Regions from separate parts of the Homo sapiens genome. Here regions 2, 3, 4 and 5 are each linked to region 1. Evidence: promoter capture Hi-C in 16 types of primary human blood cells and fetal thymus (Javierre and others, 2016). All regions are on one chromosome and are shown on one strand. Each heading gives the region's core, a stretch centred on a gene start or on the middle of the fragment in contact. The rest is flanking DNA. Distances are from core to core; before and after follow the strand shown.

What was found. Contacts are between HindIII fragments. The CHiCAGO score rates a contact against its expected background, and 5 or more counts as called.
Region 2: a fragment that was not itself captured here is called in contact with the fragment with the promoter of NAXD in region 1 in 1 of 17 cell types (naive B cells); the score reaches 5.3 in naive B cells.
Region 3: a contact is called between a fragment that was not itself captured here and the fragment with the promoter of NAXD in region 1, in 1 of 17 cell types (naive B cells). The highest score is 5.0, in naive B cells.
Region 4: a contact is called between a fragment that was not itself captured here and the fragment with the promoter of NAXD in region 1, in 3 of 17 cell types (naive B cells, total B cells and total CD4 T cells). The highest score is 5.3, in naive B cells.
Region 5: a contact is called between a fragment that was not itself captured here and the fragment with the promoter of NAXD in region 1, in 1 of 17 cell types (total CD8 T cells). The highest score is 6.7, in total CD8 T cells.

Annotation. Positions count from the first base shown.
Region 1 is chr13:110,612,826-110,618,081 of GRCh38, reverse strand. It overlaps NAXD (NAD(P)HX dehydratase), which reads right to left and starts at 2,537. Exons shown (of 10, transcript NM_001242882.2): 1 at 2,435-2,537. The coding sequence starts at 2,480. It overlaps NAXD-AS1 (NAXD antisense RNA 1), which reads left to right and starts at 1,729. Exons shown (of 1, transcript NR_182301.1): 1 at 1,729-5,000. RefSeq lists enhancers at 1,508-1,557, 1,578-1,627, 2,529-3,456 and silencers at 1,908-2,067, 2,078-2,327. The HindIII fragment of the contact is 4,814 bases long and covers 1-4,201 here.
Region 2 is chr13:111,281,526-111,286,781 of GRCh38, reverse strand. ARHGEF7 (Rho guanine nucleotide exchange factor 7) reads right to left here. Exons shown (of 22, transcript NM_001354046.2): 16 at 3,419-3,643; 17 at 542-635. Among named protein-coding and RNA genes, the nearest start is that of TEX29, 36 kb to the left of the region's middle. The HindIII fragment of the contact is 4,043 bases long and covers 1,502-5,256 here.
Region 3 is chr13:111,235,361-111,240,616 of GRCh38, reverse strand. The region is part of intron 6 of ARHGEF7 (Rho guanine nucleotide exchange factor 7); the gene reads right to left. Among named protein-coding and RNA genes, the nearest start is that of TEX29, 83 kb to the left of the region's middle. The HindIII fragment of the contact is 7,694 bases long and covers 1-5,256 here.
Region 4 is chr13:111,207,162-111,212,417 of GRCh38, reverse strand. ARHGEF7 (Rho guanine nucleotide exchange factor 7) reads right to left here. Exons shown (of 22, transcript NM_001354046.2): 4 at 2,416-2,546. Among named protein-coding and RNA genes, the nearest start is that of ARHGEF7-AS1, 61 kb to the right of the region's middle. RefSeq lists an enhancer at 203-730. The HindIII fragment of the contact is 3,410 bases long and covers 487-3,896 here.
Region 5 is chr13:111,179,774-111,185,029 of GRCh38, reverse strand. The region is part of intron 2 of ARHGEF7 (Rho guanine nucleotide exchange factor 7); the gene reads right to left. It also overlaps the pseudogene SALL4P4. Among named protein-coding and RNA genes, the nearest start is that of ARHGEF7-AS1, 34 kb to the right of the region's middle. RefSeq lists enhancers at 1-60, 161-290, 751-890. The HindIII fragment of the contact is 1,012 bases long and covers 1,641-2,652 here.

The sequences.
Region 1 (5,256 bases), core at 1,288-3,787:
ACAGACAACCTACATGGTAGGGGCTGACCTGGACATAAGAAGGAAGTTCTTATGTCTGGACTGGCAGAGAATCAGCACCCTACTACTGCCTGCCCACGAGGAATGTGGCACCATCCGCAAGCTGCAGCACTGACTGCTTCCATGTGGGACTCAATCACCTCGAACACAGCCTGGCACAGAACAAGACACTTGATACATGTTCGATGAAGTCAAGACATCGTGATTCACTCTCCTCACTAGCACTTTATCTTTCTTTTACAGATAAGGAAACTGGGGCCCAGAGAGAAACCTGTGCAGATGCTGTGGTTAGTAATGGACAAGCCAGGCCACAAGACACTATTTTACCAAAGTGCTGCCATGTTTTTGTTTTTATTTTTGTGGGCACACAGTAGGTGTAAAATGCTGCCATTTTAAGGCAAAATAAGAAGTATAGCATTTTCACTTGAATAGAATTGTATTAACACAAAGTAAAATCCAGGCTGCTCACCAGCATTCACCTAAGATAAACAGCTTCTGTTAGCAAAAGGGCCAAAGCAGGTCAACTAAACTTCCCAGCACTTGGCAGTGAAGCAAGTTCCAGCTGGCTTACTGACGTCACCATTTGAACTTAACATTTCAAATGTTAACACAGAAACATTTACATATAAAGATCAAAGTTCTGAAGGATAAAAAGGCCTTGACAATAGGCGACTTAAGATGTATCCCATTCGGTAACTCTTCAGACAATTCTGAGTCTGGAAGAACAGGTTAAATTTGTTTGGCTTTTGTTTTAAGGAAGCGTGTCTGGGGAAGACTATCACTGCTGCTTTGTGCTAAAAGTGCTTTTAGTACTGGAAAATTCTACTTAAAAAAACAAAAATACTTTAAGTTAATGTGAGTTATAACTAATTTAGAGCATTTAACCACAATCCCTAAGTTAACTGAAATATTTCCTAAAGCCTCAGTAATATACAACTCTACCTGGCTTTTCGTAAAAGTTTAGGCAGTCTGATAATAAATCCTCAACCAAGCGCAATGAAAAATCTTGCTACTAATCACGGTGTGTGAATTTAAGGTAAAGAGCTACAAATAAATCTCTAAATAAAGTGTTAAGAAGCCTCCCTGCTGGTGTGAGTGAGGTGCAGTGTAGAGTACCCTCTCAGCGCCACCCAGTGCATTCTCAGTGTGTGCTGATGAAAACAAAAAGCCAAACTCTCTGACGATGCCCAACATACACACAAGGTAAAATCTATCTAATGACTACAGCAACAAATGGTGCGTTTAACCATTTCGGCCACTCACTGGCTGGAGAATCCTGGCTAAGTCACTTTCTCTGAGCTTCTATTTATCTTCTATACCAAGGTGGATAACAGCAATCTCTCCTTATGAGAAATGAGATATACACGAACTACTTCCTGTATAAAATATGTTAGATACACCAATACCAACAAGGCAAACAGAAAGACAAAAAAACCCTATGAAGAGATGGGGCTCCAAGCACTTGCTCAGCTCCTGTTTAAATTCTTTCTACCTTATCCGTTCTATTTGAAAAGGCATCTCAGCGTGCAAGGACCAGCCAAGGCCAGGGCAGGGCCCTCGGGGACATCTGGCCAGCACTTCAGGTTCTGGGGATGACTCAGGTGAGCCTCCCTCCCCAAGGGACCTCCTACACGCACACACACACCCCGAACCGGGGGCGGGCGAAGGAGGCCTGGCTGGTGGAGTCCTTTTCTGCGGCCCAGGCGTCGCAATATCCAGTCCCTCTCGTCCAAGGACGTGCAGGGTCTGTACTTGCCCAGTCGCACTGGGACTTCAAATTGGGGATGCAGACACGGCCCTGCTCCTGGTGTGCGCGAAGCCCGCTCAGCCGGCCAGCTCGCCTGCACGCCCGCCGCGTCCCTGGGCCCCAGGAGGGCCCCCGTATCCAGCTCCGACCAAACAGCAAGCCCGCAGTTGGCGAGCATCTTTCCCAGACCGGGAGCGGGGACAGAGCAGAGCAGACGGATCCGACCAGCGCACCACGGCGCCCCAGGGCCCTCCTACCGTCCTCGGCCCTCGGCCCCCCGTTCCCCGGCCACCGCGCGGGCTCCGCCGCTCCTGGGACGCGCACTGGCTCCGGCCCGGCGCCACCCTCTGCCCCTCTGTCACCCCGCACGGAGGCTCCCATCACCCAAGCCGCGCCCAGCCGTCGCCGCGCCGTTCCAGGAGGCCTCCGTCCTCTCCCTACTCCGCCCCGCAGGCCACACGGCGCCCCGGCCCCGCGCGCGGGCTGCCCCTCGGCGGCGCTTCCCCCCCGCGAGCCAGCAGAGGCGGTCAGCGGTCGGGTACCTGCGTCCAGTGGCGGCCCGTACAGCGCGAGTGCGGCCGAGAGCAATGCGACAACGACCGCGCCGGCGACGGCAGTTCCGGCCCCCGCGCGTGTGACCATCCCCGGGCCAAATGGAATCGACCTTACCTCGTCTGCAAGCCCGGATTGCCCCACAGCGAGGACCCAGGGCCATCGGGCAGCATTCCGGATTCCCAGCTGCCCCCGCGCCGTCGCCGGAAACACAGCCATTGGAAGCGTTTTCCGGTTTCCCGACCGCCTCCGCGCGGCTGTCGGCAGTGGGATCCCAACTCGCTCAATCACACCCGGTTCTAGATGATTGACAAGCGCGACGCCCAACCCGGCCTGGTCCCAGCTCTGGCCTAAGAGGTTCGGCTGGAAGGCAGGTTGAAGAGTTAACAACGATCTGGTTCAGGGTCTGGTTTGTGTTTATCGGCCCATTTTTAGGCTTGCGGCGTTATAGAAAATGATTTTGCTGGCAGGTGGAGTGCCGAGGCCCACTATGTGCCCCCAGTATAGCAGTCAGGTGCCTTTCTGCTCCAGGCGCAACCTCTGCCCTGAACCCCAAACCAGCTCGCTGCGAGGCCCCTTCGCTTTCCACCGTCTCAGGTCAGGGCAGCTCCATCACTCCAACGCTGAGGCCCAAACCCCTGGAAGGCATTCTGACCTCTCCTGCCCTCCCACCCACGCTCCTCCTGTGGCTGATGGCCTCTTACCTCCACTGCCGCCCTATTTGAAGCCACCGTCATGGTGCTAAAAGAAACTTGTGGGGCCAGGTGCGGTGGCTCGCGCGTGTGATCCCAATGCTTTGGGAGGCCAAGATGGAAGGATCGTTTGAGCCCAGGAGTTTGAGACCAGCCTGGACAACATAAGGAGACCCCCTTCTCTACCAAAATTTTTTTGGAAAATTAGCAGGGGATGGTGTGGCACACCTGTAGTCCAGCTACTTGAGAGGCTGAGGTGAAAGGATGGCTCAACATGTCAGAGGCCTTTTAACCAGAGCGATTCCATCTTGAATAGGGACTGGGTAAAATGAGGGTGAGACCTACTGGGCTGCATTCCCAGGGGGTTAGACATTCTTGGCCACAGGATGAGGTGGTGGGCACAAGATACAGGTCACAAAGACCGCACTGATAAGATGACACAGTAAAGAAACTGGCCCAAAGCCTACCAAAACCAAGATGGCCACAAAAGTGACCTCTGTGTCCTCATTGCTCATTATTTGCTGATTATAACGTATTAGCATGCTAAAGGACACTCCTACCAGCGCCATGAGAGTTTACAAATGCTATGGCAACATCAGGAAATTACTCTATATGGTCTAAAAAGGGGAGGAACCCTCAGTTCCAGCAATTGCCAACCTCTTTCCCAGAAAACTCATGAATAATCCCCTCCTTATTTAGCCTATAATCAAGAGATAACTATAACTATGTGTGGAGTTAGTTCCTGCCGGTGGGTTCATGGTCTCACTGACTTCAAGAATGAAGCTGCGGACCTTCACAGTGTTACAGCTCTTAAAGGTGGCATAGACCCAAAGAGTGAGCAGCAGCAAGATTTATTATGAAGAGGCCGGGCGTGGTGGCTCATGCCTGTAAGCCCAGCACTTTGGGAGGCCGAGGCGGGTGGATCACAAGGTCAGGAGATCGAGACCATCTTGGCTAACACGGTGAAACCCTGTCTCTACTAAAAATACAAAAAATTAGCCGGACATGGTGGCGGGCGCCTGTAATCCCAGCTACCCAGGAGGCTGAGGCAGGAGAATGGCGTGAACCTGGGAGGCAGAGCTTCCAGTGAGCCGAGATCGGGCCACTGCACTCCAGCCTGGGCCACAGAGCGAGACTCCACCTCAAAAAAAAAAAAAAAAAGATTCATTATGAAGAGCAAAAGAACAAAGCTTCCACAGCATGGAAGGGGACCCAAGTGGATTGCTGCTGCTGGCTGGCGGGGGTGGGGGGGTGGGGCAGCTTTTATTCCCTTATTTCTCCCCTCCCATGTTCTGTTTCTGCCCTATCGGAATGCCCTTTTTTCAATCTTTCCTGCAATTGGCTACTTTTAGGATCCTGCTGATTGGTGCGTTTTACAGAGCACTGATTGGTGCATTTTACAATCCTCTTGCTAGCTACAGAGCGCTCATTGGTGCATTTTACAATCCTAGCTACAGAGTGCTGATTGGTGCATTTTACAATCCTCTTGTAAGACAGAAAAGTTCTCCAAGTCCCCACTCGACCCAGGAAGTCCAGCTGGCTTCAAGTCTCATAAGTATATTCAGTCAAGCAGCCAGTGCCACTGCTCTGCCTATGGAGTAGCCATTCTTTTATTCCCTTTCTTAATAAGTTTGCTTTCAATTTATGGACTCGCCCAGAATTCTTTCTTGCACAAGGTCCAAGAACCCTCTTGAGGTCTGGATTGGAACCCCTTTCTGATAACAGAGTGAAACCCTGAACTACACCTACCAGACCAAACCAGTAAGGAGTTTAACTACAGTAACTGAGCTTTACTTCATGGCAGGAAACTCTGTAACCAGTTAAGCAATGAAGTTATAATCAAATTAGCTGTCTCCATCACACACTTCTGTTTCCTATAGGTGCTGTCAGATCAGGTTCCTGATTGGAGTTCTCTTATCTGCTCTGGTTTGGAGGGCTGCCCCATTCGGGAATCTGTTTTGTTTTGCTCAAATACACTCAGTTAAAACATACACGTGTCTAAGGTTTTTCCATTTAACAGTGTGTGGCCTGGATGATGGCAATAGTCTGCTGCATGAGTGTCAATGAAAAGAGTCAAACTCTAAAATATTCGAGATTTATTCTGATCCAAAGATGAGTGACCATGGCTTGTAACATAGCCCCTGCAGATCCTGAGAACATGTGCCCAGGGTAGTCGGGCTAAGCTTGGTTTTATACATGGTAGGGATACGGAAGACATCAATCAGTACATGTAAGAAGTACGTTGGT
Region 2 (5,256 bases), core at 2,274-4,773, 670 kb before region 1:
ACCGAGCACCTAACAGGTGCCAGGTGCTTGCTGCGAGGCCACATAGGAACCCAGAGCTGAGTCAGACCCCTAGGCCTGAGGAGCAGACAGGACAGGTCCAACAGCAGAGAGACCAGCAAGAGAACAGCACGGGTGGGTGCTACCCACAGGAGAACACAGCAGGTCACGCTTCTAACAGACACAGGGTGCTTTGGGAGATGCTGGCACTTCAGGAAGTGTGGGTGGAATATCTTATAGGCGAGAGGGAGAACCAGAAGAGCAGGAGAGCCCTCCAGGTCCGGCCCCAGCTCCTGGATGAGGAAGGGGCTATAAGGCAGTGGTGCCGGGACTGGCACGGAGGCTTCACCACTGACACAAAGGCGCTTCTCCTGCTTGCTTGGGTAAATGTTACGTGGCTTATTCCTATCACTGCCTCAAGGGGCAGACCTTACTTTTGTTTGGAGTCTTCAGAAAGCCACCAAGCCTCCCTCTATCCCAGGAAAGCCATGGCCTACGTGACCAGGAGGCCACGTCCTCCACCACACGGACCGCAGGTACTCACTTTTCCGGGACGCGAACTCCTCATCTGAAGGCTTCCGTTCAGGTTTGCGCTTGGGCAGCAGCTTTTTCATGGTCTTAGGGCTCTTACTAAGATCCTAGGGAAAGACAAAAGAAAATGCTAACATACTCTAAAGCCAATCATTTTCACTGGCATATCAGAAAGGCTGCTGTAAAGGTATAAAACCCCAAATTATTATAGCCACTGATAAGAGCTTCTCGCCTTTTCCTACTTTGATTTTTCTTTACCAGCTTCTGAACGTTAATTTTTAAAAATCAATAGGGCATTTTCAGTATTAGTCATTGGCTAATTTTTTTTTTTTAATTCTAATAAAACCCCTCGTGTCATTTGGGTCCTGTTAGTCCTGTGATGAGAGGTGTCACCAGGAGGCAGGCTGGCGCTGGTGTGCACAGACATCCTGCACGCTCCTGAGGGAGGAGGAGAGGAGGGGGCAGCTGCTCCCTAGGACAGACCTATCCCCTGGCACAGCTAACTGGAAAGAGAGGAGGAAACTAAGGTTGTCATTAAATGACAGATAAGTAAAAAATAATTGCTTTAAGAAAATATTTGAAGTTTCAGGGAGAAGAAAAGGGAGCGAGTGCTCAGCTACCTGACTCTGAGTGCCAGGAGCACAGCCAAGCTCGGCCAGGGCTGCTGTGCAGGGGCCACATGCACACCAGCTCAGAGTGTTCACAACGGAATGGCCCACCCCTTACCTCTTCAAACAGCTTTTCAAACAAGCACAGAAGACGACGGCAAAAAACAAAGTGAGCAAAGCAAGTCCCAACAGAGCAGGTAAGGTGTCAACTGTCAAGCACGTGTTAAATACCGATATCAAAAAAAGGCTGGTTTCTGCATCACCCCAACGACATAAACCATCACGAATGCTAAACGCGAGACCAAGACTCAGAAGATGAGATGTGCTATGGAATGAACCAGGCTGGAAACAGAGGAAACAAAGCTTGGTTTTTAAAATTATCTTTAAAAGTCTTTTCTTGGGAGCTAAACAATGGGTACACATGGACATGACCATGGAAATGACAGACCCTGGGGACTCCAAAAGGCGGAAGGTGATGGGGGTGAGTTTTGAAAAGCTACCCATTGGGTACAATGTTTCCTATTTGGGTAATAGGTACCCCAGAAGCCCAAACCCCAGCATCACCCAATACAGCCACGTAACAAACTCTGAATCTAAAATAGCCTTCAAAAAGTTAAACAAAAGTATTTCTATAAAAAATTGGAAAGCTCTTAGAAATGCAGCAGCAATCTGTTCCAGAAGACACATTTATACACATGTGCTCATGGCTTCCCTAATTCGAAGCAAATTGAGATGGAGAGCCTTGAAGAGCCAACGCCCGCCCCTCACGTGCTCCGAGGGCACCTGCAGGCGCAGAGGGTCACAGAGCACACAGCACACCTGAGCCAGAGCCAGGCAGAGCGGGCTGCAGAGCGGCCTCCACGAGCCTCCATGTCCTCTTCTCACACCCTGCAAGATCACTCTCCACGCTACTGCTGGGCGGTGCTCAGCAACACTGGACGGCAGCTGCTCGGTGTGAGCCCTTCTCTCCCAGTGTGGAGTTGGCAAAGCAAATGCAGCCAGACTTATCAAAAAAAATTGTTTATCTTCACTTCAATACCCCTTCCGTTGCCCTTTCTACTTCTTTGCCCAACAGTTTTATCCCAATTTTCTTCCCTAGTAATTCAGTCTCCACCAGTTCTTGTAGTAGCTCACTTTTTCTTTAGACTGTGCACACTAAAGTATACAATAAGGAACAGCAACATTCTTCAAGTAACTTCCCATGATAGAAAATGGAAATTCTGACTTGCACACATGATTACCTGAAAGATATCATAAAAACAAAGACTCAGAACAAAAAATGAAAAGCACAGATCCTAATTTCTCATACAGTACTTTCCTGTGGGCCTTAAAACCCCCAGGGCTGCCGGCAAGAATGTAGAAAAAGTCTGCTCCAGTTCCCTTGGCAAATGTGGCCTTGACCAGACACAGAGGCACAATGCCAGGCAAGAGCGTGTCACCATCCTCACGCTCACTCACACCCCACCAACGGGCACTGCTGCTCACACTGACGCGCACGATACCCACACTCTCACCGCCACTCCTCATACCTCACCACCATGCACGCTCAACTGCTTATGAAAACAACTCTCATCTCAATTATCAGCTTCCTCAGGTGAAAGTACTTCTCAGAACAGATTTCTAAAGACACTTCCTTTCCTCATCCAAGCTGGTTTAGGTAAAAGTGTAAGGAAGTGTTAACACTTCTATTTATTCATTGGAATCGTACTTTATTTGCGCCTAGCAAATATAAAAATGCCGGATGAGAACAGAGACAAGCAAAGACCGCATCATGATTTCTTATGCATCAAAGGGGGAAACCGCCTAAGTGATTGTTTTTCATTTGTATTAGTAAATGTTCTCTTCATCTCAAATGGCTTCTGGATGACAAAATGCAGGGCTCCTGGACAGGATCCCCAACCTAGAGGAGGGGTCGTTAGACGCAGCAGACAGCGTGCAGATGCTGAGCGATGGCCTCACACACAGGGAGTGAAAGCCACCTGGGCTCAGCGCCTTTCCAGCTCCTGGCCCCTGGCGGCACACTCCTCCGGCAAGTGCAGTAAAGGCCCCCCTGTGCATGGCAGAAAGGAGGGGGACCCTGCACATCGCCTTCCCACACAGGTTACCACGGGCCTCTCAGCAGCAGAGCAGATAACCAGAGAACCAAGGCAGACCCCCCCTTCTCAGTTCTCTAGGAGTTAGGGTGCATTTTGCTGTACACAGAAGGCCCAGCACGTGGGCACACCCAGGGCCCGAGGCATGCTCACCGTCATCTGGCTGTTTGAGTGGTCAAGGGACCTCACCTCCTTGTAGCAGAGAGCAGCTGAGGGCCGGAGGGGAGGCGCGGGCCGCAGGCAGCTCAGGCTCCAGGGCTTGGGTGTTTTCGGAGGCTCCAGGGGTCCCCAGTTGATGGTGGTGTGCGGGGTGCCGTGGTGGGAGGGGTGGGGCAGCGTGTGGTAGGCGGGCGTCAGCGGCGCGGGCTTGCTGTCTGCGTGCTTGCTGGACGGAGTGACCGGGTGGGAGGGGAGCTGCCAAGGGCACAGAGCGGGAAGGGCAGAGAACATGAGACTCGCGTGCTCACCGCGAAAGGGCACTTATCACGCACTTCCTTCTGCTCTTTAAACACTCCATGTGAAATAAACCTCAGGATTTATCATTTCATTCGTATCTCTGGCTCTCAGCAGTCAGTTTTTGGGGCCAAACACTAGCTCGCGCCACCTGGGCCGAGCGTGGGGCTCCTCACGGCGTCTGCCCCAGACAGGAGGGGCAGCTCTAGCTGGGGCCCCAGCACTCAAAAGACATCCACTAGCCACATTTATTAGCTACGGAGTAACATTTATAGAAAAAAGGTACTTCATCTAGTAAAAAGATGAGAATTTCACAAAAGCACACAGGGCATGTGGCTGTAAGAAGGAAGGTGATTCCCCCCCAGCCACGTATTATTCTTCACCTGGTGATAAAGTACTGGGCGAAACTAAGGCCTGATCGCCTAGTTTTGTTTTTTAAAAAAGTTTTCCTGGCACACAGGCAGGCCTGTGCCTGTCTAAAACTGCTGTTGTGTTCCAAGGGCAGAGTACAGCTGCAAGAGGCCTGAACCTGTAAAGCAGAGAACGTTTACCATCTGGATCTTTACTGAACACTGCCAAACCCTGGTATTAAAACCAATTATGTTCTTAGAAAACTCAACTTTAATCAAAACAAAGTTAATCAAAAATTAACTTCTTAGAGCGGTGTGCCATTAATGCATTTTATATTCCTGGAAAACCCAAAATATTCCATCACAATGACAGTTAAATGAGAAAAGTTAAATAAGTCATTCTCAAAATCAGCCAATAATGACCTCAAATTAGCCAACAATAGTAAGGTGCATTTAATGGGAGAACAAGCTGTGTGGCGCTGTGAACTGGAAACGGAGTGGGGCCGGCATTCTGAGGAAGTGCGCGACCTTCAAAACACAGGCTGAGAGGGACGGCAGCTAATGCCACAATTTCAAGAATAGAAGCCATCAACTTCCTGCAACGATCACATTCTAGTCCCTGCATGGGGGAGGGAATTGTGTGAGATGCAGGTCATGCTATGAAGCCACTGTAAGGTCATCTTTTCATAGGAAATAATGTATAGATGGATAAAATTATGTAAGACATCCCTTCTAGCAACAACGTCAAAGCAGTGTCTGGTTTTGTTTCTCCTTTCTTGAAAAAGTCAAAGGAAGTATGCTTTATGCTAAAATTAGAAAATGATTTCAGCTGGTCAGAGTTGGATCACAGAATACATCATCCCACACAAGAAACTCTGTAGGAGAATGCAGAACATTTTAAACATGAGGCACAGTGCCTTCCCCGCTGAAGGGATGCCTTCCCAGCCACCAGTGAAAGAAACACTAAGACGGAGGGTCTGGCCACAGAGAAAAGCTGACTTGATATAAAATTGTATGAAGTAGAGTTTCAGGCTGCTGTTGAAAACCTGAGTGAAGCAGCTCATCCACTGTTCTTTATAAACACACGTGTACACACACGTCCCTGGGATAAACTGATCTCCATGAAAGAATGGAGAATTTTAAAATGGTAGAGCCATTAAAAATGAAATGCTAGCTAAAAGCCAATGAGTAGTTACAATCTTTACTGCTGAAAGAAATCAGATG
Region 3 (5,256 bases), core at 1,592-4,091, 620 kb before region 1:
CATTACAAGACAGTAGTTCACCACACAATGTGGCCTGTAATAAACATCTGACTCCACGGAAAGGAGGAGGAGGAGGAGGAAGGAGTGTTGACAAGAAATCCCAGAAGCTCCTGCTGGCTCCTCTACGGGTCACAATGACATGAGGCAGTCAGTGGCTCCCCGACCACACGGTTGCTGATTTAATGTGGTGTGTTAGCACTGCTGGTCCTTACCAATACCTCGGAACGTTAGTTCTCAAAAAAAGTTTGGAGAGACCACATAAATGCTTTTATGATGCTGTATCTTTTGAAATAAATGTTATTCTATTACTTTTAAATTTGGAGATTCACAGGTCTTGGGGTACGTTTCTCCTAAATGTTAAAGGTTTATAGGCAATGGCTCCTGCAAAGCCTCCAGCACACAGGGGGAAGCAGACACCACCAATGGCACCTGCACAGCAGCATGGCGACAGGTAGAGCCGGCCTCTGCAGCCACGTGGACCTGGGCTCCCAGCTGCGCTCCACCACTGACTGTCTGCAGCTGGACAAGTCTATCGGTCTGTTTCCCTTTTTCACAAAAAGGGGTTTTACGAGGTTATAATGGTTACTCAAGAGTGCCAGTCATTGGCTTATAGTAGGAAGGCATCTAGCCAGTCACCCTTCGACCTTCCAGCCCAATGTAGAGTCTTACTTGGAGCTGCTTCTTAAATGACTCCTTCAGTCAGGAGGTAATTATTTCACAAGACAGCCTTTCTTGCAATTAAGTCACTCAATCCTCCCAAACACTGAGCTCCTCTCCGTGTCAGCATTCCACTAGTGCCTACCTGACAACCTTCATCTGTATCATCTTAGTCCAGATACAGCAAGGAAATCCCATGAAAAACAATGGGAGCCAGGTGTGAAAGAAGCCAGCAGGCACCTCGCCGCCCAGGAAAAGAGGGGATCCCACAAGCTGCACACCCTCCCTGATACCTCAGGGCCCCTCATCATTAACCATCTCCACCTACGGGCCCCAAGCAGAGACTTCAGGAGTCAAAAGATTTAACAGAAATCTTCATTGAGGTGGAGAAAAGCCAAGGGCAAAGCAGAAGATGAAGAGACGAAGCAACGCCAGGGTTTAGGGTCACTGCTGATGGATGGAGACCGAAGACACCCTGTCACCAGGAGGCTCAGGTTTTCCTCCTTGGCCTGGCATCTGAAGGCCATCGCAAACTAAAGGAGCAGGGAGGAAAAGACAGGTGTGCGGCTTCTCTGGAGCACAGGAAAGGCCCGTGGATGTGTGTGATGGCATCTAAGGATACATAACCGTTTTATACACTTACAGATTAGAAAGAGTGATGCTACCTATTACATTATATTCACAGTATTATAATAATGCTCTAAATAACAGGGAAAGTGATATGGTTTGGCTCTATGGCCCACCCAAATCTCACCCTGAATTGTAATAATCCCCATGTGTCAAGGGCGGGACAGGGTGGAGGTAACTGAATCATGGCACGGGGGTGTGGGGGAGCAGGGGCACGCAGCGCGTTCCCCTATGCTGTTCTCATGGTGAGTTCTCACAAGATCTGATGGTTTTATAAGCATCTGGCATTTCCCCTGTTGGCACTCATTCTCTCTCCCACTGCTTCGTGAAGAGGTGCCTTCCGCCATGACTGTAAGTTTCCTGAAGCCTCCCCAGCCATGCGGAACTCTGAGTCAATTAAACCTCTTTTCTTTATAAATTGCCCAGTCTCGGGTATTTCTTCACAGCAGCGTGAGAACGGACTAATACAGAAAGCCTAAAAAATCAAACCATAGTGTATATCGCTGAGCAGGGAAGGCCATAAGGACTGTGTCTTCCCAGTCAGCGACTTAAGAAACCTCATTCTCTAATGACGGAGCGGGGTGCTCCTCATCCCCCCGAGAGGCAACTCCAGACCATCATTCTCTCCAGCCTAGGCATCCAACCCCTTCCTTTGATCCCCATCAGGAAAGATGCCAGTCACCATGCCATGGGGGCAACGAGTGTGCTTTCACTGTCAAATCCACCAAGCTCGGGCACATCAGGTCACAAACCTGTCTCTTTTAATTATATGATCAGGCCACCTTGGCTACAGCTTTCACAGGTCACCCTCAAAATCTACGGGGATTCCAGTTTACAAACAGAATGGTATGGTGGCCTCAGTGATGCCTTCTGTTCCCAATGCTCTTAAATACTCTTCTTAATACACACAAAAACCTCTAAGGTCCAGCACTTTGCTGGAGGCCTTAAGGCCAGTTGCCAGTCCACTTAATACTACCAGGTCAGGGCCAGCATTACCAATCTCATTTTACAAATGAGATAACTGGGCTCAGGAAGCTAGGGCCAAAGCTCCTGGCCACCCAGGCTAAGCAGCATGGACGATTCAACAAAAAGGCTGTACACCTTCCACTGCATCAAGCCGCCCGGATCTTAATTATCTGAACTACCTACACAACAAGGGCACCCTAAGCACAGCTAACAGACTGATTTCAAACAGTACGTACATGAGAAAATAGAGGCAAGAGTAGTGGCTGGCTGTGTCACAAAAACTAATTGAAATTAAAAGATCTGCATTTAAGAGATCTTGATTTCCTCTCCCTTCCCCGTCACTCTCCAAGCCCAAGGCCTGTGTGCCTGCCATGTTCCACGCTGGCTTCCTCCCTAGCCTCAGAGGCCCGTTTCTATCTCCAACACATTCTGGACTGTGGTGCCAAAGACTTCCCCCATAATCACTATCCCTTACATTAGTGGGAAGCTAAAATTCCTCCACTGGAAAGAAACCATTCTCTAGCACAATGTCTTCTATCTTCTATGTCAACTTTGTAATACCATGAGATCATATCACCTGTGTAATTTCATATTCTGTTATTGCACTTAACATGAAAATATATGTTTTTTGTATTTTTAAAGCCTCATGTACACTTTAGTAACTACAAATGGACAAACCACTGATCGCTTAATCATTCTGGTACTGTTCATCTCATACTGTTTATTTTGGGTTGCTTGCAATTTATTACTATAACAAATAATCCTCTGAAAATGCCTTTACACAAGCATCTTTGAATATATTTCAGGTTAATTCTCTGGAATGGATTTCAAGAAATTTAGAAATTAAAGAGAAAGCCCTAAATTAAAGAACTTGATCACTTCCAGAATTCTATATATAACTGCCATATTACTTTTGAGAAACTCTGTATGGATTTACATTTCCACCATTAGAACTAAAGATTCTCTCTTTAAATCTCTGCTCACTGATTACAGAAAATATGCCTATTAAAATTTTTATGGTGAGTTTAACTATTTTTTTTCAAAGCCTTAGTGTTTACCATTTTTTAAATTGTTCACAACCTTTCCCATTTGTCTATTAATCTTCATGTATTTGTCTTAATGAGCTCTTCAGACATTAAGGATAACCTTGTATTATACCTGATGCAAATAACATTCCAATTAACTTGTGATCTGGCTTATACTGTTTGAGGCAAGGAATATATTAAACTCTCATTAGGTAGCCTAAAAGATTTATCTTTTCCTTTGTCATTTCATCCACTGCCTTTAACTTTTAAAAAGTCATGCTCCTCCCCAGCCCTCTCTTTGAATGCATTCCCCAACCCCATACAGATCACTGGCAAGAGTGAAACCTCACCGTCAGAGGTGTTTTTTGGTTTTTTAGGGACACAATCTTGTTCTGTAGCTCAGGCTGGAAGTGCAGTGGTGCAATCATAGCTTACTGCAGCCTCAAACTCCAGGGCTCAAGCAATCCTCCCACCTCAGCCTCCCGAGTAGCTAAGACTACAGGCATTTGCCACCCAGCCCAGGTAATTTTGGTTTTTTCTAGAGACATGGTCTTGTTATGCTGCCCAGGCTGGTGTCAAACTCCTAGCCTCAAGCAATCCTCCCTACTAGGCCTCCCAAAGTGTTGGGATTACAGGTGTGAGCCGTAATACCTGAACTGTTAAAGGTGTTTAAGCACAATCTTTGGTGAATCTTTGGCTGAATACTAAATTATGCTACCCAAAAGTGAATCCTAGAAAGACAGAATTAAAAATAAAAACAAGAATAAAAAAATAAAAATAGACATCAGTGACTATGGGAAGATAAACTACAGAAGTGCTCTAGGTGAGTCACTGAGCAAGACACAGCAACAGCAACAGTATAACCCAGGGGAGGTGGATTTCAAGCATCCAGAGCTGCTAAAATAGGTCTAAGATATCCAGTTTTCAATTTAAAAAATCATAGGACATGCAAGAAAGTGTGACCACACACACACGCACACAAGAAAAAAAGAAGCAGTCAATGGAAACTGTCTCTAGGGGGCACAGATAGTGGACTTAGGAGATAAAGGTTTCAAAGCAGCTGTTATAAATATGTCCAAAGAACTAAAGGAAACTATGTTTAAAAAATTAAAGGACAGTATGAAGACAATGGCTCAAATATTGTCTATATTTGACTAATTGCACCACAGGAGTCCCAGAAGGAGAGGAGAGAGAAATAGTTACTGAATGGTTCATAATAACAGACATAAATTACTACGAGTTTTACTTTCCAGTGTCTTTTTGGTGTTCATCTTAACTATTATACAATAGCAGGAAAACACATATCCATCCCATTCATACCTGTCTCATTGTCTCTTAATTTCAAAATGTTGGTACTTTCGCATGGAATACTCTTCTCTCAACTCCATTATACTGATCCCAAGTTAAGACAAGTCATTCATGTAAATTTCCTTAACACCATTGGTCCACACCAGTCTTACCCTTTAGTAAGTTTTCAACTTTCAGTGAGGTTAAAAACACCCAGACCTTATAGTTTTCTGTGAAAACGAAACTACAAAAGGGGGTGTAGAAATGCCTAACACATTATCTATCATGTTTTGTTCTGTGTTGTATTCTGTTCTCTATTTTTATGTACAATTTACAAATATAAAATTAAGGAAAGCTGAAATTGATTCCTGGCTTAGTAACCAGTGTATAACCTTGGACAAGGCATTTAGCTTCTGTTTTCTCTGCTGTAAAATGAGAGTACTACATCAAAAGACAATTCTCTATGAATTCTATGAGTTTATTTCTATAACAACTGTAATTTTACCATGTGCTATTTATAAATGCAGCTTTATATAGAAAACAATTTAGATGTGATTTTGAGGTCAAGGTGTTTTCCATCATTCTGTATGAAAGAGTTGGCTGATTTGAAGAAAAGAGCACTTATAATACCCAGGCTATTCTCTCTGTAAAAGGACAGTTAGAGAAGGAAAACGAAAAAGGTATCGACTATGCT
Region 4 (5,256 bases), core at 942-3,441, 590 kb before region 1:
ACTCATGCCTTATCTATGAGAAAAACCATACCTAAATCTACAACTGGCGCCTACCACATTCTTCACCACCGAGGCCCATCACAGAGCCGAACTGGATAAAGAGCTCGATTTAGTTCAGCCTCTGGAAGTGGGTAAGAACTCTCCCCTGACTGTTCTTTCCTTGGAATGGTGGAGGGGCACCGCAGACAAGTGAAAACCTCCACTGCAGTGCAAAGCAGTAAACGCAACATCAAACTGTTCAAGCCTGCCTATATCCCAAGACAGGAAATCTGTCCCGAGGCAGGGGGCTGACGGTTTCACAGATGAAAAACAAGCTTATAAAAACAACCAGCAACTGCAGTGGTGGCTGGAGGACACATTCTTACACTGAAAGGGAGGCAGGTAATGAAGGAGCAACACAAGAGCAAAGGGGCATAAACAACACCAGCCCCTCAGAACACAGATCCTCGCCTGGGGGATGGAAGCGTCTTACGCAATCTCAAAGCTTAGGTTTAATATGATCTCAAAACTGACATTCAAGAAACTGCAAGTTGCCTTTTAGCTTAACTTTTTATCATGGAAATGTTCAAATGCACACAAAAGGAGAGAGTGACAGGTGGCCCTCCATGCATCCACTGCCCAGCTTCAAAGGAATGTTAGGCCATTCTTGTTTCAAGATAAGTTCTTAATTTTTAATCCAAGAAAACTACTACAAAGTGCTATCGATAAACTACACAGAAAAACCTAAGGGTAAAGAAACATTCATTCTTACCTAGCATGGCTGAGAGAGGTCTTGCACATTCCATCAAAGAGAAAGCAGCTCTCTAGCACCCAATCAAAACATCAGCCCAAAAAGACTTCACACAGGTCAGAGAGCGCAAGTCTATTTCTAGTATAACGAAATTTCAGCAGCTAATGAAAAATTAATCCAATACTTACTATGATCTCAGTAACATTACCAACAAACATTACATTTAACTTTATTTTACTTAAAATTATACATTTGTAATCTAGTCCTCTACTCAAAAAGAAAAAAAAATCAGATGAAAATTGCCACCAGTGAACGGGTGAGACAGCAAATCACAGCTTTACCCAAGGCGAGCTGATTTCTCTTATGTTTTCCTCATGTGTTTTACAGAGCTCATTTCAAGTGTGTTTAAAGTGGTTTGTTTAGTCCTCTTTAACTTGGAATCCTAATGCTCCCAATGGTAGTCCACAGAATTCTTCCAGAACAGGCTCCTGCAAAGCAGGAAACAGCAACAGCCAGGCCTCTCGGGGCTGCTGTGAGGACTGCAGCACTCAGGCCATGCAGCCCACCGCCCACCACGCCTGAAGCAGTCAGACCCCTCGGGGATCCTCTAAGAGGAGACACAGCAATGATAGCGAGCTTGAGTTCAAAAAGTTCAGAAACATAAAAATCACATTCCTCGCATATCTTTCCATTTTTCACACATGCTTCATAAACCACTGTAATTTATTTCCCTCTACAAATCACGACTCTATCTAAATTAACTTTTATTTCTTGAGGACCACCATCAGCTTACTTAGCAATACTCCCCCATGTTAAGGCAGAGGAAAATCCATGGACCCTTCATGACTCTAGAATAGGGTTCTCTCTAGACTCACGTTACAAGATCACTATGTTTCTAACAAAGTATGTACTGTCGCGAGAAAGCAGTGGTATCCCCAGCAGCCAATCGAAGTCACTGCCCGCCAGCTGCAGCTCAGAGAAGGGTGCAGGACTGCAGAGTGGCAGCCCTGGCTCTGCCCCAACACTCTACAGGCAGCCCTGTTTAACCCTGCTTGAGTTTCTCATTTTCAACTTCACTATTACATTCCATGGGCTTTACTCACAGCCTGTATCCTGAGCATTTTTAAACGAGTATTTTTTCACTCTCCACGACAACTGTTCGATCATCTAAGTTTCTTTCTCTGCGTCCCAATCAGTCATTCTAAGGGATTCCCTCCCCTGTAAACTAAATCCTGACTTAGTAAAGCACACTAAGCCATGCTTTCATGAAGAGAAGAAAGGCCAGATTCTTTAGTTTTAACCATCTCTTCTTTACGGAGCTGAGTACTTTTCCATACATATTTCTTATTCTCAATATTTCTGTACATGTGCATAGCTGATAATGCCATGCAAATGACAAGGGGTGTGTTTTTTTAAAGCAGCATCACTCCAGATATCGAGTCATGAGTCTTGCAATACAACCTAAAAACAAATGAGTTTCTCAAAAGCAATCATTAAGCATAATATCTGGATCATCTGGTAATGAGCAAATGCCAAACCAGATTACAGGCACAACGGAGGCGAAGTCCAGCTACCTTTGCCCTGTTTAACACCATTAATGGAGGCATACGTATCTTCTCAGATATATCCATACACACTCATATCCTTCCCAAACATATTTAAGTAACAAAATCTCTCAAACTTACCAAACTCCGATACTGGCCCTGGAACAGTTTTGAAGTCCGAGTGTGCAAAGACTGTGATCCAAGGGAGTCAAAAGACTTTATGCGGTGAGACGAGGGCCGGGCACACACGGAGTCACTCCCCAGCCCGATGTCTGCAAAGAGCATGCACACAGAAAAAGAGAGCTGAGAGCGCCTGATACCACGCACCCACACTACACACTAGACTTTAAAACTAGGGCAGCACAGAGGGACACACCAAAAGACCACAACAAAGCAGCCCATTTATGCAGAAAACAAAGAACAAATTATTTGCTACATAAATGACTTGCATTCATTCCCCAACTACCTTTCCAGAAATTATCTGGAGATAACTATTAATCAGTTCTTCTCTAATATAATTTTCAAAAGTTTGTGAAATGTATTATAACTTTTAAAGATTTTCCCTTCACCTGGAAAAAAAAGCCTCTCAAATTTGATTATGGAGCGGAGAACAACCAAGTACTGATTCTCCAAAGCATCACCACCACATGCCCACTTTTCCAGGACGATGTGTCATGCAATAAGCAACAGAAGGAAAAGACTCTTATTTAAAAGAGAAAATCCAGTGTATTTTTCAGCCAGAGAGAACCTTGTGAGGATTATTTCCCCAACACTAAGGCAGCACAGGCTCTACTCACCTCATGAAGTTGCTGACAGAATCAAAGTAAACAGACAGTAAGAGGCTTAGTTCTGTTCTCTGGATCTCCCTTCATAAGACACTCCACACAGGCCATCCAACAAATAAATAATAGCAATTTATTCTTAAAAGTGACTCAATTAAAAAAAAGAGAGAATGAGGCTGTGAAAAACTTTGCTGGGAAAATCGCTGTTCTGAGAGGCACGTGCCCGGCCATGTCCTAAACTCCAGGGAGGCTTCCATGAAAGCAACCCTAAGTCTCCAGGTCCCAGCTTCCTCCCAGGTGTTTGGATTGGCTTGCACGTATCTTATAAAATTCTGAATTAAACGGTCAACATCGAAAAGTCTGAAGGTATCACCAAAAACCCAGATTCCCCACTGCTCTTGACACATTTAGGATGTGGCCACACCAGGTCTATATCCCATCAGGTAAAGCTGGCTCAGAGCTGGGCAGGGGCTGTCCTGAGAGGACCCAGCACCCATGCCCTTCCATCCAGCTCCTCCCTTCACGCCACCTGCCTGACCCCACAGATGGGGGCTTGCTACTCCAACGATCTTAAATTCTTCTCAGGTCACCCCCTCACCCTACACTTCCCAGGACCTGCTGAGGGCAGGTTACGAGTAATCTCTATAGAGCACATTCTGCTTGAGAACACAGGGGTCTCAGGCAACCCGCAGCACAAAACCAGCTAAAAGGGCATTTCCAGCAAATTCTACAGGGCTCCCGGCCATGGTCTGCAGTGCTCTGCTGGCCACAGCCTTCCAGGAAATTCTCATACAAGGAGGGCCATCCTGAAGACATTCTGTACTTCCCCATCACCAAGCTTTCTTCTATCCAATTAAAAGGCCAGTTACAGTCAACTAAATGCCTTGAGAACACATATGATTTTAAGAGACAGAAGCAGAAAGACAATGACAATTTTCCCAAGAATGTCCACAGTAACTGTGGCTGCTGCAGTTGTCTTACTGTTTGCCAATCAAGGAAAGCTGAAATCTAGAAAGAAACGAGGCCAGGCGCAGTGGCTCATGCCTGTAATCCTAACACTTAGGGAGGCAGAGGCTGGTGGATCACCTGAGGCTGGGAGTTCCAGACCAGCCTGACCAACATGGAGAAACCCCGCCTCTACTAAAAATACAAAATTAGCCGGGTGTGGTGCCACGTGTCTGTAATCCCAGCTACTCGGGAGGCCGAGGCAGGAGAATCGCTTGAATCCAGGAGGCGGAGGTTGCGGTGAGCCAAGATCATGCCATTGCACTCCAGCCTGGGCAACAAGAACGAAACTCTGTCTCAAAAAGAAAACGTACGGGTATTGCCTTCCCACTGACTTCAAAAACAAAAACAAAGGGCAAACAGAAAAGCAAAGCATTCCTTCCATCTAGGAGGGGTCATTCCTATAGTTTAAAAGCTTAAAAGTACCAAGTTTATGTGGTAACTTCCAAATTTGTCTTTGTAAAGAACAAAGCTATCTATTTTACATCCAACACATAGCCAATGATACCAAGAACATATACAAAATACATTTCCATAAGGTAGAGGTAAAAACTAATAGCCTGAGAGCTACTGGATTCTGACTTCTCTTATTTACTTGTAAATCCTACCGTCTCAAACCTAGATGGTTGACAATCCCAAGACTGAGTGTACAAATTAAAGCCATGTTCTAAAGCCACTTCGTCCTAATTAGCACCCCCACTTACAGCAAAAGCAGAGAAAACATCTACAATGAAATTCAAAGTTACTATCTTCTGCTCCTGTGAGCAACCTCTAAAAAAGTATTCAATGGGAGCAGAGTCAAATTAAGGATTACTTGTAGATTTTACATATCTGTGCTATTGCCCCATCTGCCACAGAGATCTACGTTAATTATAAGGCACATCATTTAGGACAGGCATGGTGGCATAAGCCTGTAATCTCAGCACTTCGGGAGGCCAAGGCAGGCAGATAGCTTGAGCTCAGGAGTTTAAGACAAGCCTGGGCAGCACAGCGAAACCCCATCTCTACAAATATGCAAAAATTAGCCAGGCACAGAGGCACACACCTGCAGACCCAGCTGCTGAGGAGGCCGAGGTGGGAGGACTGCCTGAGCCCAGGAGGCTGAGGCTTCAGTGAGCTGAGATCACACCACTGTGTTCCAGCGTGGACGACAGAGCAAGACCCTGCCTCCATAAAAAATAATTCAAAACTCTGA
Region 5 (5,256 bases), core at 897-3,396, 570 kb before region 1:
CTCTGAGGAAAAAAAAAAATGACAATTCTACCCAGAAGCGAAATCCCCTGGGAGCTCCACCACCAGCCTGGACTATCCCCCATCTGAAGTGTGACACAGGAAACAGGTGCAGAGAAAGTGTCTCCCTCAGCTCTGCTCGTGTAGCTGCTTCTAGAGCCCTCCATCCGGTTCTCCCCACCTGCTCCCAGACACACAACCCGCACAGTGAAGCCCACGGGGCCGGTAACCCACACACAGGACTGCACAGTCCCCTCCGCTCTGATGCCAGTCAACTGGGCTTTTATTCACAAACAGGAAGAACCCATCAAGGCCACACCTGATAGGAAATAACAGCATAGCACAAAGAGAACTGACCTATGACTCCCAAAAAGATGGAGAAGACACATCTCCCCCTCCCTCCAGCTGAATGCAGCTAAAAGCCCTGGATGCTGCCTATAAAACAAACGTCAGCCTCAGAATGTGAGAGAGGAGGCAGACCGGCTAAGGGTTTCAGGGCTGGGAACCATGCCAGCGGGTTCTCTGGGTTTTCTTTTTGCCTCAAATGCTCCAAACTGAGTGCTAAACAAGCCAGCAACCCAGAAACACCAACAGGTACAGAAGAAAAGCCTCAAGAAAGACCTATCCTCTCTAGCCAAAGGACCAGGACAGGGCAGCCTAGTAGGTCAAAAAACTTCAACAATAACCATCTGTATTAGTCCGTTCTCACGCTGCTATGAAGAAATACCCAAGGCTGGGTAATTTATAAAGAAAAGAGGTTTAACTGGCTCACAGTTACACATAGCTGGGGAGGCCTCAGGGAACTTACAATCACGGCAAAAGGCACCTCTTCACAGGACAACGAGAGAGAATGAGTGCCAGGCAAAGCAGGGGAAGCCCCTTATAAAACCATCAGATCTCGTGAGAACTAATTCACGATCATGAGAACGGCGGGGAAACCAACCCGTGATTCAATTATCTCCACCTGGTCCCGCCCTTGACAGGTGGGGATTATTATAATTCAAGGTGAGATTTGGGTGGGGACAGAGTCACACCATAACACCATCCTACCCCAACCACACAGAGAGGGTTAAAAAATGCAGTCCCACCCGCACCCGGCCATAAGCAAGTGACCCCCGTCAACCCTTCCCCACAAGTCCTGGTGGAGACTTACAGAGCTCCTCATCTTTTACACAGGAGAGAAGTCTAAGATGACAAGTCAAGAAATACTAGAAATACAGTTAAAAGGTGACTACTAAAAAATTGAAAATTATAAAACCGGTACAATTAGCAAAAATTGGGATTTAGAGGGGCTGTGGGGAAGGTGAGAGACAGAGCAAGTATATTAAATTCCCTCCCTCATAAAGAGGCCATAATGGGGAAGAGAAGAAATGGATTAGAAGAGGGTTTATAGGTAAAAATCCACAGGACTTTATAATAATTGATAAAATGACAATGTACATGTAGTTTATGCACTATTTGATGCTATGCAAATGTAACTTTCAGCAGACAACATGAAAAGTTCAAAGGAGGTTTGATTAGAAAAGACGAAGCCACAGATGATGCCGGAGGTGTGAGACCTGAGGGTAGACCCCATCAAAAAACATCCAAAGAATCAAAACATTTGCCAGACAGCTTCTGAGAGAAATAGAAAAAAATAAGCTTATAACCACATTTTCACTGAGAACATTTTTGTTTAAAAAAAAAAAAGGTGCCAATACTCCCATCCAAATGCTATAGAATGCTATAGCTGTCTGCCTTCTGCACTTAATTTCTAACTCCCAGTACATGTCCACTGCATATGTATTTCAAAATAAGCGCCATTTAACAAAACTTGCTAGCACGAGTACAATGACATAGCGTGCGTGCAATGTGACTGCTAGTAATCTGCCTTCCTCTAACTCTTGACTATTTACACCTTGGTTCTACCTTGTAGGGCCACCCAGATGCTCAACTCACAATGGGGTACATCCTGTTAAACCCACTGTAAACTGAAAAACATCGTGAAGTTGAAAATACATTTGATACACCTAACCTACACAACATCACAGCTCAGCCTAGCTACCTTAAGTTTGCTCAGAACACTCATATTAGCTTACAGTTGGGCAAAATCATCTCACACAAGAGCATATTTTATAACACAGCGTTGAATAGCTCATGTGACGTACTGAATACTGAAAAACTGGCTGTATGGGTACTCGAAGCACTGTTTCTACTGAATGTGCATTGCTTTTGCACCATGGCAAAGTCAAAAAAACATGTAAGTTGAACCACTGGAGATGACGAACCATATCTGTATGAGCCCACAGATGCTAGGCCCAATTTCTCTGAACCCTAAAACTGCTTTCTAAACATCTAGTCCAAGTCTCCCGATGGCGGGGGCAGAGCTGAGAGCGGCCACGCTGAGATGGAAGGTGGGAGCAGTCTCCAAGTTTATCAGAGCCCAGCCAACTCCATCAAAGCTGAAGTTCCTGGTATTCGTCAGACCCCAGGCCACGTTCCCCCCACCCCTGGGCATGACACCATTGTTAAGAGGCCCAGCCATGCCCACAGCCAAGCAACAGAGATGCACAAGGTGTGGGAAGACCTTCTCATCCTCTCCGGCTCCTCAGATTTAAAGGCGGATGGAGTCACACTGGAGAAAAGCCTTTTGTATGCAACACATGCAGACAAGCTTTTACCACCAAAGGCAGCTTGAAGGTCCACTGTATGACACACGGGGCAGTAACTCAGCACCCCGTGGAAGGAAGCTGGCCAGAGAACACGGGGGCTCCATTAGGTACAGAGGAAAAGAGTCTCAGAAATGCTTCCCAAGGAAGTCCTGAACCCTCCGGCGAACAGGGACCTGTCGTATGGAGGCGGCACACCAGCACGCTCGACACCGTGAAGATCAACGAGACTGCTGCGATCCAGAACGGCGGTGTTCTCACCCTCCTGGTCTCCAATTCTTGTGAATTAAGGCCACTCTTGTGAATAAAACCCTCCCAGCTTCCTCTGAACAAACATCAGGTTCAAGTTATTCCATCCCCTAGCAGTCAAGATGCACAATGCTGCAGGCTTTTCACATTTCCCCTGACTCCACATTTAGGACAGCTCACCAAATCCACAACGCTTTGTTGGTTCAGTTCAACACATCAACCTGAAAAGCTCACAGGCCAACCAAGCAGCAGCATTACCTGCATGATGTCTGGCCCCTCTGCCCTTTCAAAGGTCGCTTCCTACCTGAAGCTCTTTCCTGTTTCCACCTGGAATGTTTCTTCCCCTCTCTGAGTCCCAACCCCATGACAGCTGCGCCTCTCTTGAAGCATTTACAGCTGCTGCCCCCTATTCAGGTTACATGGGTTCCTTCCACTTCAGTGCACTGTTCCATGATGCCTCAGGGCACAGATATCTTGTTCACCTCTATACTCCCTCAGGGCAAGGCACCCAGCTCAAGACACTTCCTCAGAACCGAGTGCAAACTGATGAACAGCACCTGGAGAAATACTCCAAGTTCTCCACCACAATGAAATCCAGACTATGCTCCCCAGTTGTTGTTGTTGTTTAAAAAAAACATGATCTATCCAAGAAATGCCCCAGTCAAAGGATCTCATGACTTTGTCCCATCTCTTTCTGGGCATGCTCCAAGTCCTACAAAATGACCTCCACCTCTTCCAGGGGCCAGTTCTAAACTAAGATTCCAATCAACTGCCATAAACAAGACAAAAGTAGGTTTCCAGGTCTTCTCTCAGCAAAGGGATGTAAAATTTGAAGTTGGGACAACTTGAAACCCTTAATACACAAATTTACCAATTCCAAAGTTCCCTTGTCCTGATCCTTCTAAGACCCCCATGTGATCAATGTTCAAACTCTTGACCATGATCCACACTAAAAAATGTATTTCACAATGTAACCAATACACACAGAATCCATAAAGTTGTTGAAGTTTGAATTTTGAATAAATTCACCACTAAGAGATAAACAATTAGCAAATACAACAGGGACAGGAGCTACTCAAATTTTAAAGTGGCCATTCACCTGCTCCAATTTATTTTCCAAGTAGTAAGTCTTTCACTACACTCAACGGCCTTCACTGAGTTACACATCATGCCCAGAATGATGGGGGGCATTTTGAACACTAACATTTTTGCAATCAGACATCTTAAATCTTAAATGTCCTTCCAGTTGCATGATGCAGATTATGTATATTATCTATATAAACACACGTATTAAAAATTCAAAATGCAGAACATTATGGACACTACAGTATATAGTTCCCCATAAAGATTAAATTTCCAGGTGTCTATAATCTTCCACCAACTGTACTGCTCTCATTCTCTTGTTGGAGCTGATCTTTAATTCTCAATTTGGAAGTTCTGAAATCACCATAAACCTGGATTCAAATACCAACTCTGCCACCTAGTAAATGTTAGACACTGGGCATCTTCCTTAACCTCTCTACATCTCAGCTTCTCCTTCCTGTAGTGTGATCACTATCTCTGCCTTACAACACAGCCTTCTGGGGCTTCTGGTACTGAGAAGCTCCTCTGGAAGCAGCAGCTGTTACTACTAAGCTGTTGTCATGCATGTTTTAAAGAATCTTACATTTCTACCTCTTCTGTATTTCCACCGTTACTTCTCATAAAATGGAAAATATCCTATCTGTATGTGTTCCTTCCCTGTCAATCAACTTCCTTCTATTCACTCCTGAAGCTCACATGGATAAAATTCAGTTCATGGCTTCAGTCTGAGTCAAAGACTGATTTTTTGCTTGGTAATGAAAAGCTCGTAAGGGAAGTAAAACAGACCTCAGAAGTAAATGACTAAGTTCACAAATGTTATAGAATCTTTGGATTCTTGAAAGCAAAGTAACATTTTCTCCTCTCCCACATCCCACAACTTGCGGGCTTAGATGCCCACCACCACCCTCCAGTGCCAACAGGAGCCTGAGGCCCTAAAGAAAGCCTCAAATCAAAGGGCCTGAGAACCACCTGAACCACCATAACAGGAAGTAATTCAGGCACGTAGGCAGTGGATGCTAGAAGCATCAGTGAAACGTTTGGGGGTAAAGTATCATCCATGGATTAAGCACAAAGGGAAAGGCACCCTTATAACCGAGATCTGGTGGACATCACTTTAACCTAGTGACCAACTGTGGCACCAGCAGTGACGGAGCCCACTAACAGTAAGTGCCTTCCGCTGGGACCCAATGGGAAGTACAGAGTATTACCTATGCAGAATTCATGCCAGAAATGTCTAACCTGAACCAAATCATGTCCAGACTGTAGGGCATGCTACACA